Linked DNA regions of Homo sapiens: all the other regions are linked to region 2. The links are contacts of gene promoters, found by promoter capture Hi-C in human tissues and cell types (Jung and others, 2019). All regions are on one chromosome and are shown on one strand. Each heading gives the region's core, a stretch centred on a gene start or on the middle of the fragment in contact. The rest is flanking DNA. Distances are from core to core; before and after follow the strand shown.

What was found. The method cuts DNA at HindIII sites, captures the fragments that hold promoters and counts their contacts. A contact is called where the count stands out against the background at its distance.
Region 1: a fragment that was not itself captured here is called in contact with the fragment with the promoter of SNRPB in region 2 in 1 of the 25 tissues and cell types used here (hippocampus).
Region 3: a contact is called between a fragment that was not itself captured here and the fragment with the promoter of SNRPB in region 2, in 1 of the 25 tissues and cell types used here (lymphoblastoid cells).
Region 4: a contact is called between a fragment that was not itself captured here and the fragment with the promoter of SNRPB in region 2, in 2 of the 25 tissues and cell types used here (IMR-90 fibroblasts and lymphoblastoid cells).

The regions. Positions count from the first base shown.
Region 1 is chr20:2,886,924-2,890,356 of GRCh38, forward strand. All of the region lies in intron 1 of PTPRA (protein tyrosine phosphatase receptor type A), which reads left to right. Among named protein-coding and RNA genes, the nearest start is that of PTPRA, 15 kb to the left of the region's middle. The HindIII fragment of the contact is 7,740 bases long and covers 1-3,433 here.
Region 2 is chr20:2,469,322-2,472,581 of GRCh38, forward strand. SNRPB (small nuclear ribonucleoprotein polypeptides B and B1) reads right to left here and starts at 1,468. Exons shown (of 7, transcript NM_003091.4): 1 at 1,367-1,468. The coding sequence starts at 1,369. RefSeq lists enhancers at 1,088-1,207, 1,368-1,417, 1,428-1,477. The HindIII fragment of the contact is 7,557 bases long and covers 1-3,260 here.
Region 3 is chr20:2,119,474-2,122,779 of GRCh38, forward strand. All of the region lies in intron 3 of STK35 (serine/threonine kinase 35), which reads left to right. It overlaps LOC124900458 (a long non-coding RNA gene), which reads left to right. Exons shown (of 2, transcript XR_007067499.1): 1 at 1-3,306. Among named protein-coding and RNA genes, the nearest start is that of STK35, 19 kb to the left of the region's middle. The HindIII fragment of the contact is 6,505 bases long and covers 1-3,306 here.
Region 4 is chr20:2,172,948-2,176,213 of GRCh38, forward strand. LOC124904859 (a long non-coding RNA gene) reads left to right here and starts at 228. Exons shown (of 2, transcript XR_007067500.1): 1 at 228-463. The HindIII fragment of the contact is 5,428 bases long and covers 1-3,266 here.

The sequences.
Region 1 (3,433 bases), core at 734-3,233, 420 kb after region 2:
CAAAAGTATATCACAGAAGATAGATATTTGCTAGCCATATTTAAAAGGAAATATTTGTATAATGGGGGTGAAAAAATGATTATCACAGTTTAGTAAACACAGCCATAGTGCTTCTTCCTTTGGATTCATGTTTCTTTTTGGTTATGATAGCATTAAAACTTGGAATCAGGCTTTTAAATTGCTCTATAATATATTAAAATGAGATTTTTCAAACATAATGAGAAATATTTAATCATATGGATTGCACTAAAATATTTTTAAGATGGGTTTTACATTACTATTTTAATTGATGGAAGTACCATTATTGTGATCATTATGTATTTCATTTGAAATGTTTTGTAGTATTTATAGGTATTAGTACCTGTGTTCTGTTTATAAATGAACATGTGTTGGGGATGTATACTCTTATTTATTGGTGGATGTGCAGTAAAAGGTTTGTTTGTGGAGAACGGACTGGGCAGGGTATAGAGACTTATTTGATGTTTATTAGAGCAAATGTGGCCAGTGATGATGGTGTTCTGGATTGGCTTAGGGTGGGAGGAGTGGTGATAGGGATGGAGATACATGGACAAGTATGATTTAAGCAGTAGAGGCATTAGGGTTCTAGATTTCTGGCTTTTTGGAAGAGATGATTGCTAGTTAATGAACTGAGCTTTTGTGTGTGGGAAGAAGTTGAAACCTGGCCCCTGTGAATTGTGCAAGTAGTTCTTAAATATTGATTGACAAATAGCTTAACGAGCAACTAATTTTCAAATATTGGTTGACAAGTGGCTTATTACAATATTGTAAATGCATTGATACTACCATTAGTAAAGAGAATGTCTTCCTTTGATAATGTTAGCAGCACTGTTACCAGAGCAGTGTGGGATAGTTCCAGGACTTTCACTGTCTAAAAGGAACTGGAGGCCCAAGCTTTTACGGGGATACTTCTGCTCTCCTGGTTCCCATGTCCCCAGTGATGTGAATGTCCCTGACTCAGTGCCTCTGCTCACGCTGTCTGTGAGATCACTGCCTTCCAGTGCCTCTTACCTCTTGGGCCTGCCCACTTTGTTAACAGGGACAGATTTCACAGTGATTTCCAGCCAGTATTTCTCTCTCCCCAGTTTGGGGTGTTAGCTAGAATGGTCCCTCAAAGCCCTCAAACACGGATGAGAAATAGAAGAAGCTCAGGGAGACTATACCTGGGCTAGGTTCTTGCTACCAGCTGGTGGAAGACAAAGAAAACCCCTTTTCTTCCTGTATTTCATGCCCAGTGAGCAGTAGTGCCATCAGCAGCAGTTGTGAACCCCTAAATCAGTGATTCTCAATATGACTGACATGGTGGGGAAGACGTAAGTTTGAAAATGCATTTTCAGGCTAGGTGTGGTGGCTCACACCTGTAATCCTAGCACTTTCGGAGGCCAACATGGGAGGATCACTTGAGCCCAGGAGTTCGAGACCAGCCTGGGCAACATAGTGAGACCCTGCTTCTACAGAAAAATAAAAGCTAGCCAGGTGTAATGGCATGCACCCATAGTCCTAGCTACTTGGGAGGCTGAGGTGGGAGGATTGCTTAAGCCCAGGAGATCAAGGCTGCAGTGAACATACCACAGCACTCCAGCCTGGGCAGCAGAGTGAGACCCCTGTCTCAAAAAGAAAAAGCATTTAAAAAAAAAAAAGGTTTGTTAGTGTTTGTCTCAAAATTTTGCTTAATTTAAAATTATGTATATATTTGAATAATATGTGTCCATGTTAATAGTTCTAAAAGTATATATAGTATATATAGTAAAAGGTAGTTTTCTCTCCCCCTGCCTTTCAGCTTTCCCTTTCCATAGGCATCCACAAGTACTATGAGCAATACTTGTGAAACCATGCTGAAATACTACATGCTCATAAAATGTAAGTTACTTAAGTTTGGTATTTCAAGTAACAATAAGGGAAGATAGGAGAGTTTTATGTTTATCAAAAGGGGTGAATGTTATAGCAGATTGAGATGAGATGTTCTTACCTTTGGGTGGGATCTTAAGTGGAGCTCAATTCGGTTTCCCCAATGTTAGTGGGAGAGATTACTTAAACCATCCATACTTATCCAGTTGTACTTGGTAAGTTTTCAAAGGTTCTACTTTGAAGAGGGCTTTTGTTGAGCAAGTAGTGGTTAATAGAGCAGCTCAGTTACATGTGTAAGTTTTTTGATGTGGGAAAAGGGCTTTTGTATACAGAAGGACTATTTTAAAATTATTTGGGCTTTAAATTAACATGTATTAAAGTGGTAAATTTAAAACCCAGTTTTCTTTTAGTCTTGTTATTGTACTTGTAAGCATAGGCATTTTGTATAGAAATAAGAATAGTAATTTTCACCTGCTTGTCAATTAAGTTAATATAAATTTAACAGATTTAATTGCTCCAGGCCCCTTACTTAGTGAATTAAATTTCCTTAGATGTTTAAAATACATTTACACAGTCAGTCTGTCAGGCACAGTCAGTCCTTGACAGGTCAGAGTTACCACCTTAAACAGAAACTTCTTAAGCTCTTGGGCAATCTGTGATACTAAGAAATTAAATTTGTAAATGTAGTAAAACAGGTTTTGGTTAAGACTTCCAGTGCTTTTCATTAGCTGAATCTGAATTACCAACATTTAAAAAACACATACCCTAAACTTAACGCAAAAGTACTACTAGTACCATGAGTTTGATATACCATACCTCATTTTATTGCTCATGTCTTTTCTTTCTGGGATTGTGATGCCACTTACCCAATTAAGGAGGACAGTTTTATCATCTCAGAAAGCCATGGTTATCAGATTAAAAATACAGAATCATGATACAGTTATTATTGGTCAGAGATTTGAGACTGGGAAAGGGAACTAAGGGGTCTGTGTTTCCAGGATAATTCTACTCAAGAGATGCTGTGCCTTTCCTTATGTTAAGAGTCCTGAATGTGGCATCAAAGGGGGAATCCATGTTCAGAGTTTGTTTTGCAACCCCCCATACCTTTTTTTGAGACAGGATCTTGGTAGGTTGCCCATGCTGGTGTGCAGTGGTGCAATCATGGCTCACTGCAGCCTTGACCTCCTGGGCTCAAGTGATCCTCCCGCCTCAGCCTCCTGAGTAAGTAGCTGGGACCACAGATGTACGTCATCATGCCCAGCTAATTTTTTGATTTTTTTTTTTTTTTTGTAGAGATGAGGCCTCACTATGAGCCTAGGATGATCTCAAATTCCTGGCCTCAAACAGTCCTCCCGCCTCAGCCTGCCCAAGTGCTGGGATTACAGGCATAAGCCACCATGCCTGGCCTTTTCTTCAAAAATAACCCTTCAATCAATTTTTTTTTTCCTGGTCAAATTGGATTTTGTGTTTCTTTTATATATTCCTTGTCAGGCCCTACAGTTATTTTAATTTTGGGTGTTGGATAGACTAGGGTTCATATTCCATGCCTGCCATGCTTTTTGTGAAC
Region 2 (3,260 bases), core at 218-2,717:
GTCCCATCGAATATACATGCCAGAGCTAGAGCAATCTTTCTAAACACCACTAAGCTTATGTCATTTTGCTGGTTAAAATCCTTCAGTGGGCAGGGTGTGGTGGCTCACGGCTGTAATCCCAGCACTTTGGGAGGCCAAGGTGGGTGGATTAACTGAGGTCAGGAGTTCGAGACCAGTCTGGCCAACATGGTGAAACCCCGTCTCTACTAAAAATACAAAAAATTAGCCAAGTGTGGTGGCGGGTACCTACAATCCCAGCTACTTGGGAGGCTGAGGCAGGAGAATCGCTTGAACCCGGGAGGTGGAGTTTGCAGTGAACCCTGATCGATCCACCGCACTCCAGCCTGGGCAACAAAAGCAAAACTCCGTCTCAAAAAAATAAAAATAAATTAAATTAAATCCTTCAATGACATGCCTCACCACCACTGAGGTAAAATTAACATGCAAGGCCTTTAGTAACTAGCCTCCTGCCAATTCTTCCCGTCTTCCCTTCTTTCTTCCTTTCTCCTCCAGCAACTTTTTCTCAGTCAACAAACGCAGAAAAATCCAGTAACTTTTTAAATCTTGTTACCCTTCAGCCTTTGTTCCTTCAGTTCTCCGGGTCTGTAATATTCCCCCCATTTTCGCCGGGAACATTCTTGCTAATCTTTTAGGAATCTGCTCAGGAACCATCTATTTGAGAAAACATTCTTACCCCGCCCCGCTGCCGTTACTTTTACCGAATGACCACACTGAATTATATTATGTGTCCCCAGCTACCTCTGTGAAGGAAGCAAACATATTTCAGAGAGTAGCCCCAGCGCCTGAGAAGTCAGGCACAGGCAAACACGGAAACGTGATGAGCAACTGAGTGGAGCTCTTCCTCCATTCGCCATCACCCTCCTCCGCCCTCCTCTCCATCCAGCAGACCTAGCGAGACTCTAGCGTGGTCCACGAGCCCCTTCCACCCACTTCCGCCAACTCTTTCTCAGACTCACAAACTTCCGCAAGTCTGAGCCTTTTACCGGGTCCCCCTGCGGCTCCAGTGCCTGCTCCGAAGCCCGGGACATATATTTATTCGGCAAAAGTTAACTTAGTGCCTACTGGGTCCCAGGAATTATGGCTACAGCGGTGTCGAGAGCCGCGGTTCTACCCTCGCCCCTGCCGAGCGACCTCGGCCTCCGACACCGGTTCCAACCTTTTCCTCGACCCCATGCCTAGCCGAACCGCCAAGGTCCTGGTCTTTCCCGCCCAGACCGAGCGGCCTCGGCCCAGGCCTTCACCGCCCTAAGTGGCTCCAACCCACGGCTTCCTCCCCGATCAGTCGCGGTTCCCACTCCACAACAGACTCGGAAGCTCCCGCGCCGCCAGCCTGTGCCCTCCTTACCATGGTGGCGGTTCTGATGGCTCTGATACCCGCCGGATTCGCCTCCTCAGAGGCCTAGCCTCTCTCCCACAGCCGATTTCCCGCCGCCGCTACCGGAAATGCAGCACCACGTAAAATGCGGTCGGGTAGAAACCTACTTCCGGTCCAGCTCACTAGCCCTGGAGTTCCGGCCCCGGAGCGGAGCTTCTGCCGAGCAGAGGCGGGGCCTGGGGACTGGGCGTTAACATCCGGCTTTGACGTAAGGAGAGCCTTAAGTTCCTGTTTGGACACCTTCCTAGCTTAAATCCGTACTGAGAGCTGCTCTGTGTCACACTCATTTCTCTTCACCCCGCCTTTCCCATTAACCTCTCGGTCCTCATTTCCCATCACCCTCCCCGGCTCTCTCCTCTACAGTCACTATTCTTGCTTTTCCCTCCACTGGCTGGACGTGCTCCTTTTTCAGCCCCTCTGCATTTGCTTTCGCCTCTGCCTGGAATGGTAGTCCCCAAGGTATACCAGAAGGCTGCTGCCCTCACCTCTTTCAAGGTTTAAGCTTAAATAACATTTTCCCAGTGAGGATTTCCCTAGCCATCCTGTAACCTTCCCACCCACCTCATCCTCATCTCTCCTGTATTTCCCTCTTGCTATCTAACACGCTGTATATTTTTGTTAGTTATTTTATTATCCCCTCCCCATTAGAATGTAAGATCCATAAGGGTGTGAATTTTTCTCTTTGTGTATTACTCATTGCTGTAGTGCCTAGAACACTTTAGCACAAAATAAGGGCTCTACCCATATTTGCTGATAATCGCATCCAGTCGTATGACATTTATTTTTTTTCTATGACTTTTTTTTTTCTTTTGAGACAGAGTCTCAGTCTGTCACCAAGGCTGGAGTGCAGTGGCACAATCTCGGCTCACTGCAACCTCTGCCTCCCCGGTTCAAGCGATTCTCCTGCCTCAGCCTCCCGAGTAGCTGGGAATACAGGCCTGTGCCACCACACTCGGCTAATTTTTGTATTTTTAGTAGAGACGGGGTTTTGCCATGTTGGCCAGGCTGGTCTCGAACTCCTGACCTCAACTCCTGGTCTCGAACTCCTGATCCACCCACTTTGGCCTCCCAAAGTGCTGGAATTACAGGCGTGAACCATCACACTGGGCCCTTCCTATGACTTTTAAATACAGCATATACACCCAAGGCTTTCAAGTTTGTTCCTCTAACCTTGGTCTCTTCATTTAACTCTTGGCCCTTTATATCCAGCTGCCAGCGTGATGTGAATGTCTAATAGGTATACCAAATTTAACATGTTGAAAACTGAATTCTTGATTCTATTCACTGTTTCTAAAACCACTTCACCAGTGTTCCCCATCCCCGAAGTTTCTTGGATTAAAAAAGAAAAAAAAGAAAATGACAAATTTGAAGCATATTTCATTCTTCTCTTTCTCTGCCATCGAATAATCAAATTCATCAGCAAATCCTGTGGCCCCCACCTTCAAATTATCTTGAATATGATTGTTGTCACCCACTCCATTGCGTCCACTCTAGTCATAGCCACCATCGTCTCTGTCTTGGATCATTGAACGAGCCCGTAACTTGTCTCTTTGCTTCCTTTCTTGTTCTCACGGCAGCCAGAGGGATCCTTCTAAACGTACTGGGATATCAGATGATGTCATGTCCTGGTCTCCACTTACCAAAAACTTCCCAGCACACATGGAATAAAATCTAGCTCTGCGCTCCTCTCCAACCTCATTCATCTCCGTCAACATTGCCCTCATTCATCCTTCTCCAGTCACACTAATCTCCTTGCTGTTCCTCAAACCCAGCAAGGAGAGCTTCCACCTTGGTGCTTTGCCATCTTCACACCATCTCTAAAGGGTGTGTTCTGTTGTCCCGTTTCCTGTCACCTGTAGATGAA
Region 3 (3,306 bases), core at 569-3,068, 350 kb before region 2:
TTAGTTGGACTGAAGTTTGATGTGTGTGTAAGAGAAATAAGATGAAAAATTGACCAGCATATATGCTAGGTAGTTTCACATGAACCATTTTGTTTCACCTTTACAACCCTGCAAGGGATTAAGTAATTTACCCCAGATCCTACTAAGTTAAGGATGGGTATATCTTATTCAAGCATCCCCCACCCCCTTTTCCCTTAATATGGTGAGCTAGAAGTAAGCTGCTCTTACGTTGTGCTGAAGTCTTGATGAGGTGATGGAGCTAGTGCTGATCCTCCTGGTGGTCACAAGAAGCCTCAGGAGCCATAAGGCACGGAGCTTTCCATCACTTGGGTGGGTTCCCTCCCTTTCCCTTCATTATCCTCTGGTTTCTAGGTGGGGTTGGCTCATTCCAAGTTGAGCTTGGTTTCATGTGTAGTGTTCTCAGTGAATGTATTTCTCGAGTGAGTCACTTAGGTTTAATTCTTTCATTCTACAAACGTGTGTTCCAGGTGCTGGACCAATTGGGCCTACCACCCGTGGGTAGGAGAACAGCAGTCCCCAAAGCTAGGTTTAGGGTAGTGCTATATTAGAAACCAAAAGGGTTGGCTAGACAGTGTTTTAAATGTATTTTGTGCTGTCACTTCCCATTTCCATCTCATGCTTTCTGCTTTTGAAAGACCTCTTAAAATTCAGATTTGCTCTGGCATAGGAAGGTTGTCATTGGAAGAGGGACCTGAATTTAGGTTACGATTATGGGGTTGTCATAACTAATTGAGATCAGGGCTTCCATGTGGATATCCACACTTGAGATTTGTGCTGTTTTGCAGGGCAGTTTTGGCTAAATTGGAGTGATTCTTTCATGTAGGAGAAATAGGCGACCTTGAGAAGAGGGGAAAAGATTAGGAATATGGTTACTGGTGAGTGTCCCAGGCTGTTTTGTTAATTCATTTTGTGGCTCTTACAGCTAATCTTTACAGTACTGGTGGTGCCAATTTGACCATAGCCTATCCTCCCCTGTCTTAGGTGGGCACTTAGAATTGTGGGCCTGGGCCCAGGTCTGTGACCAGAGCCAAACCCTGTGTTGCCAGAAACTTCAAATCAGCTTCTGTAGAAGAGCTGTATCTGGCTGGTCAGAGAATCTGAGGCTTGACTTGGGAAGAACATTGAGTCTGACCTCCCTTTCCCCTGCCAAGTTTTGTAGATGGACAAGCTAATTTCATTTATTCATTCAACATGTTCTTTGGAAACTCTTTCCAAGTACCATTTTAGACACAGATAATACATCGGTGAACAAAACAGACAAGTTTTTGCAGTATGGAGCTTAACATTCGTTCTGTTGGGAAGACAGTACCCATAGGTAATGTACAAGAAAGTGCTCGGTGCTGGGTGCGGTGAGAGGGTAGGATGGGAAGAGTAGAGCAGGGTAGGGGAGATCTGAAGCTTGGGTGGTGGGGAGGGGTGGGGATGTACTTTTAAATGGAAGATATCAGAGTGGGTCTCCCAGAGACGGTGACCTTTGAGCGAATGTTAGAAGGAGTCGAGGGAGTGAGTCCCAAGGATTTCTGGGGAAAGAGCATCTCAGACAGAAGTAATGGCCACTGTGAAGGTCCTGAAAGTTGGCCAGAGTGAGCAAGGAGTGTATAGGAAGAGATAGATAACTAGGAGCCAAGTAGGCCTCGTAAGCCTCTAGAGATTTTGGCTTGTGTTTTTGGATGAGATGGAAAGCCATGGGGATGTTTTCAGCTGTGTGATATCTGCTCTTTTGAAAGGATCACTTTGCATCTTGAAATAACGGGATAAGATGGGAGGCTGTTGCAATAATCCAGGTGAGAGATGACGATGGCTTGAAACAATGTAACAGAGAAGTGATTATTGGATTTTGGGTATTTTTTTGAAGTCAGAGCCAGCAGGATTTCCGGCCGGATCATATGGGAGGTGTGAGAGAAAGGAATTAATCATCACTTCAAGGTGTCAGCCTAAGTGATGGGAAGAATAGAGCTGCCATTAAATAAGATGGGGAAGACATTGGGGGAATAGGGTTGGCAGGACAAAGTTAGGTTTTAGTTATCTGAAAGTTTGGCATGCCTATTTAGAATCCAACTACAGATGTAGAGTAGGCAGTTGGATGAGTCTGGAGTTCAAGGGAGGGGTCCAGCCTAGAGATACAAATTTAGAGATTTGCCACAGTACTGGAGTGGGTATAGACAAGAGGAGGTCAGAGGACTGAGCTCCAGGTGGTGCAACATTGAGGATGGGAAGAAAGAAAGGAGCCAGAGAGAGGGGAAAAGACATCAAGAGGAGGAGGGAGCCAGCCGTGGCATCATCTGCTAGTTGATTGAGAGGACTTGATCATTGGATTTAGTAAATGGGAAAGCATCAGTACTCATGAACAATTTTGGTGGAGTAATGGGGAAACCTGTAACTAGAGTGGATTTGAGAGGGGAAGAGGAGAGGAATTGGAGACAGTGGAAGAATAGACCAGTAGTTGTCAAAGTATTTTGTCTGAAAGCCTCTTTACATTTTTGAATTTACGGACTCCAAAGAGCTTTTGTTTTGGGTTATATCTGTGGATGTTTGTACTATTAAAAATTAAAATAGGCTGGGCGTGGTAGCTCATGCCTTGTAATCCCAGCACTTTGGGAAGCCAAGTAGGGGCAGATTGTTTGAGCTCACGAGTTTGAGACCAGCCTGGGCAACATGGTGAAACCTGGTCTCTACTAAAAATACAAAAATTAGCCAGGTGTGGTGGCACATGCCATAGGCCCAGTACTTGGGAGACTGAGGCAGGAGAATTGCTTGAACCAGGGAGGCAGAGGTTGCAGTGAGCCAGGATCACACCACTGCACTCCAGCCTGGGCGCCAGAGAGGGACTCTGTCTCAAAAAAACAAAAAAACTCTAGTTGCATAAGTAAACACACTTGACCCCTATACCACCAAGATGAAAAAACACCTCAATGTTTTAGGATTGTAGATTTCAGAGTCGCATTTAAGTCAGGACTAACTAGTTTCAGTTTTTTTGCAAAAATAAAAGGAAATGCATTTTGGGTTGGAAACCTGGGATTCCCCTGAAAGAAGTGGTGTCTAGTAACAATGCAGGGATGGAGTCTCATATCTGCGTTTTCCTGACTGTGTGGCCTTAGGCAAATTATTCCACTTATCAGGGCCGCAGTTTTATTATCTATAAAATGGAGTTGATCCTATATATCTTATTGAGGTTGTTGGGGGAATCACAAGAGGTTGTGAAAGTGCCCTATGTAAACAGTCTGAATTAATTGTAATACAGTAGCATTGTTTAGATCCATACTTTGGCCTAGGTAGAAGTATTGG
Region 4 (3,266 bases), core at 567-3,066, 300 kb before region 2:
AGGGGAGGAAACTGACGCAGGTAAGAGCATTCACCTCTTTCCCTCTCCAAGGCTCAGTTTCAGGATCATTGTCACAGGTCTGACACGAATCATGTGCAATAATTTTTTGTACATTCATAGGTTTGGAACACGGTATAAAGGGCCTTGAATGCCAGAATGAAGCCTTGGGTTTTATCCTGCAGTCGTTGGGAGCCACTAAGAGTTTCTGAGCAAGAGAGGGACAGGATCCGAACTGTGCTTTGGAAAGATGAACCAGCCGGTGTGCATTCATGCATTCACTCATTCGTTCATTCATTCATTCATCTGACCAAAATGTGCTTTAAACATCTTTTGCATGCCGGGCCCTGGGAATGCAGCAGTGACCAGAGGTGCTGTTGGACTTCATGGAGCTCATGGCCTCGAGTGACATGTGTGGGAGTGGACATTTGGACACAGAGGAGGCATCACCCCAGTCCTAGGCAAGGTGAGCCCTGGGGCAACATAAGGCTCACATAGGCGCCTTAGCTTCTGCCCTGTATGTAGACAGAGCAGGGTGGGAGTCAACTAAGCCACTGATTTAAGTACAGACCCTGGGACAGGGGCAAGCCTGTTGGTCCTCAGCTCCCATCCTAGGTCATGAGAGGCCAACTTGACCAACGCAGGAGGTGTATCTGTTCATTCCCCTCCCCAATCAAATAGATGCAAATAACATGCAAGAGGTCCGAATTTAAAGTATGTTAGTGTTAAATAAATGTATTATGGTCTGCCTGGCGCAATTATAGTCAAACTCAACATGTAGGATGTGACCCACATGAAATACTGAACCGATTTTAGTATCAGACAGCATACTCACTTTGGAGACGAGAAGAGGCAGAGGCCCAGGGACACACCATATGGAGAGATGCACACACGGGCAGGTGTTCATGAATTTACTGCATTCAGGAGGTGAGAAGAAAAAAGAGACAGATTTCATTTTCAGCTCTGGCTGGAGTTACGGTCCTTCCTTTGAAGGAACATGGATGAGGAGCTAGAAGTCCTAGGTACTAGTCCCCACCACAGCCACTTGGTAGCTGTGTCAATTCTAACTGGCCACTGTATTCTCATCTGTACAATGGGTCCAATGACAGGGAAGCATGAAGGAGACCATGGAGGTGTCTTAGGTTGGGATCTCCAGAAGTTGACCCTGAACCAAGGATTCCTGTGAAAATGACTTACTGTGTGTGAAGTATTTCCAGGAACAGCTAGAGGAAGGGGAAGCAGGCAGGGCCAGCAAGACCATGCCCCACCAGGTCTGTCCTGCAAAGGAGGTGGCATAAGTCATACCTCAGAGTTGGCCCATTTGGGGGGCAAGGGAGCTGGGGTATTCATACTCCTGTGCTCATTGGTAATTAGAGGGAGTAAATTCCCCTCTGGAGGACATACCTTTCCAGGCACTTCCAGCTCTCCATACGTACAGGCAAAGCTGGGTCGAGCAGGCTACGAACTGTCCTCTGAAAGACACAGGTGCTGGCTGCTGGGAGTGAGAGCATCCTGGGAGCTGCTGTACACAGTATGGGACCCAAGGGATGGTCTACTGTAGGACGGGAAGTGCTTTGTAAACTGTGAAGTGTGGTACTGGGATTGAGGAGGGTCCTCATCTGGGACTTCCTGCAGCTCACTGATCCGTCTCAGCCAAGTTGTCTTTCCTCGTGGGTCTATTTCTTCCTGGGCAATTGAAGGCAACAACACACACGGATTGTCATGGGTGGAGGGGTGTGGTGAAATGGTAACTACTCTGGTGGTGAGGCTGTGGAGAGGCGTGCACCTTTATGCACTGCTGGTGGGAGTGTAAATTGGCGTAACGTTCTATGGAAGGCAATGTGGCAATGTCTATCAAATTACAAATTCACAAATCCTTCAACCCAGCAATTGTATTTATAGGATTTTGTCCTACAATAGATACTCACACACATGAAACAACATGACAAGCTTATCCGCTGCAACTCTGTAATTGCAAATAAATTAAAACAATTATTGAATAAATTATATACACTCATGAAATGGAATATCCTACAACAATAATAACAATAAAAAGGAGAATGAGGAAGTGGCCTCTGTATTGTTACTGGATGATCTCCAAGCCCCATAGTTAAGTTACAAAAAAGCAAGATAAAGAACTACATATGATATTTCTTTAACAAATTCTTCTATAGCCAAGTATTGTCTTAGGTGCTTTACAAATATGAATCCACTTAGTCCTCCTGACACTCCTGAGATAAATATTATTATGTCCATTTTACAGATGTGAAAACTGAGGCACACAGGTTAAGTAATTTTTTAAAAAACAGGTGTGCACCACCATGCCTAGCTAATTAAAAAACATATATATATATATTTTGTACATATGGGATCTTGCTATGTTGCCAGAGCAGGTCTTGAACTCCTGGGCTTAAGCCGTCCTCCTGCCTTGGCCTCCCAAAGTGTTGGAATTACAGGCGTGAGCCACCACACCCAGCAGGTTTAGTAATTAGATGAAGGTCAGGAAGCTAGTAAATGGCAAAACTAGGATTTGAAGAGGAAGGGGCTCCAGGAGCTGTGTTTTTTGTTTCAGCTTTATTATTATTATTATTATTTTGAAAGTTTTGGGGGAACAGGTGGTATTTGGTTACATGAAGAAGTTCTTTAGTTGTGATTTCTGAGATTTTGGTGCACCCATCACCCGAGCAGCGTATACTGTACCCAGTGGTTAGTCGTTTGTCCCTCACCCCTCCCACCCTTCCCCGAGTCCCCATAGTCCATTGTATCATTCTTATCCCTTTCTGTCCTCACAGCTTAGCCCCCACTTATCAGTGAGAAGATACAATGTTTGGTTTTCCATTCCTGAGTTGCTTTACTTACAATAATGGTATCCAGCTCCATCCAGGTTGCTGCAAAGGACCTGTGCCTTTGTGTTACTAGGTTGTATTTCCTCTCTGTAGCTGAAGATTACTCCTAACTAATCATAACTCCATTTCCCAGTGATTGGTTTGGCAGTGATTGGTTTGAGGAGGGAACACAGCCCAATTCTGGCCAATGAGATATGAGGGGATGTCTGCTAGGGAACTTCCAGGCAAGATTTTCTCACTGATGAAAAGGGATGTCCGGGGAGTCCATCTCCTCTGCTTCTTGAAGTCATGGTGAAGCTGTGGATGGAGCAGCCACCTAGTGATTGGGAGAGTCCAAGCCTGAAGTCAGAGGCCCACACACTGAGGATGGAGGAATGGGAAGACAGGCATAACCTGGGACCCTATAGTCATTGGGCCACTGAG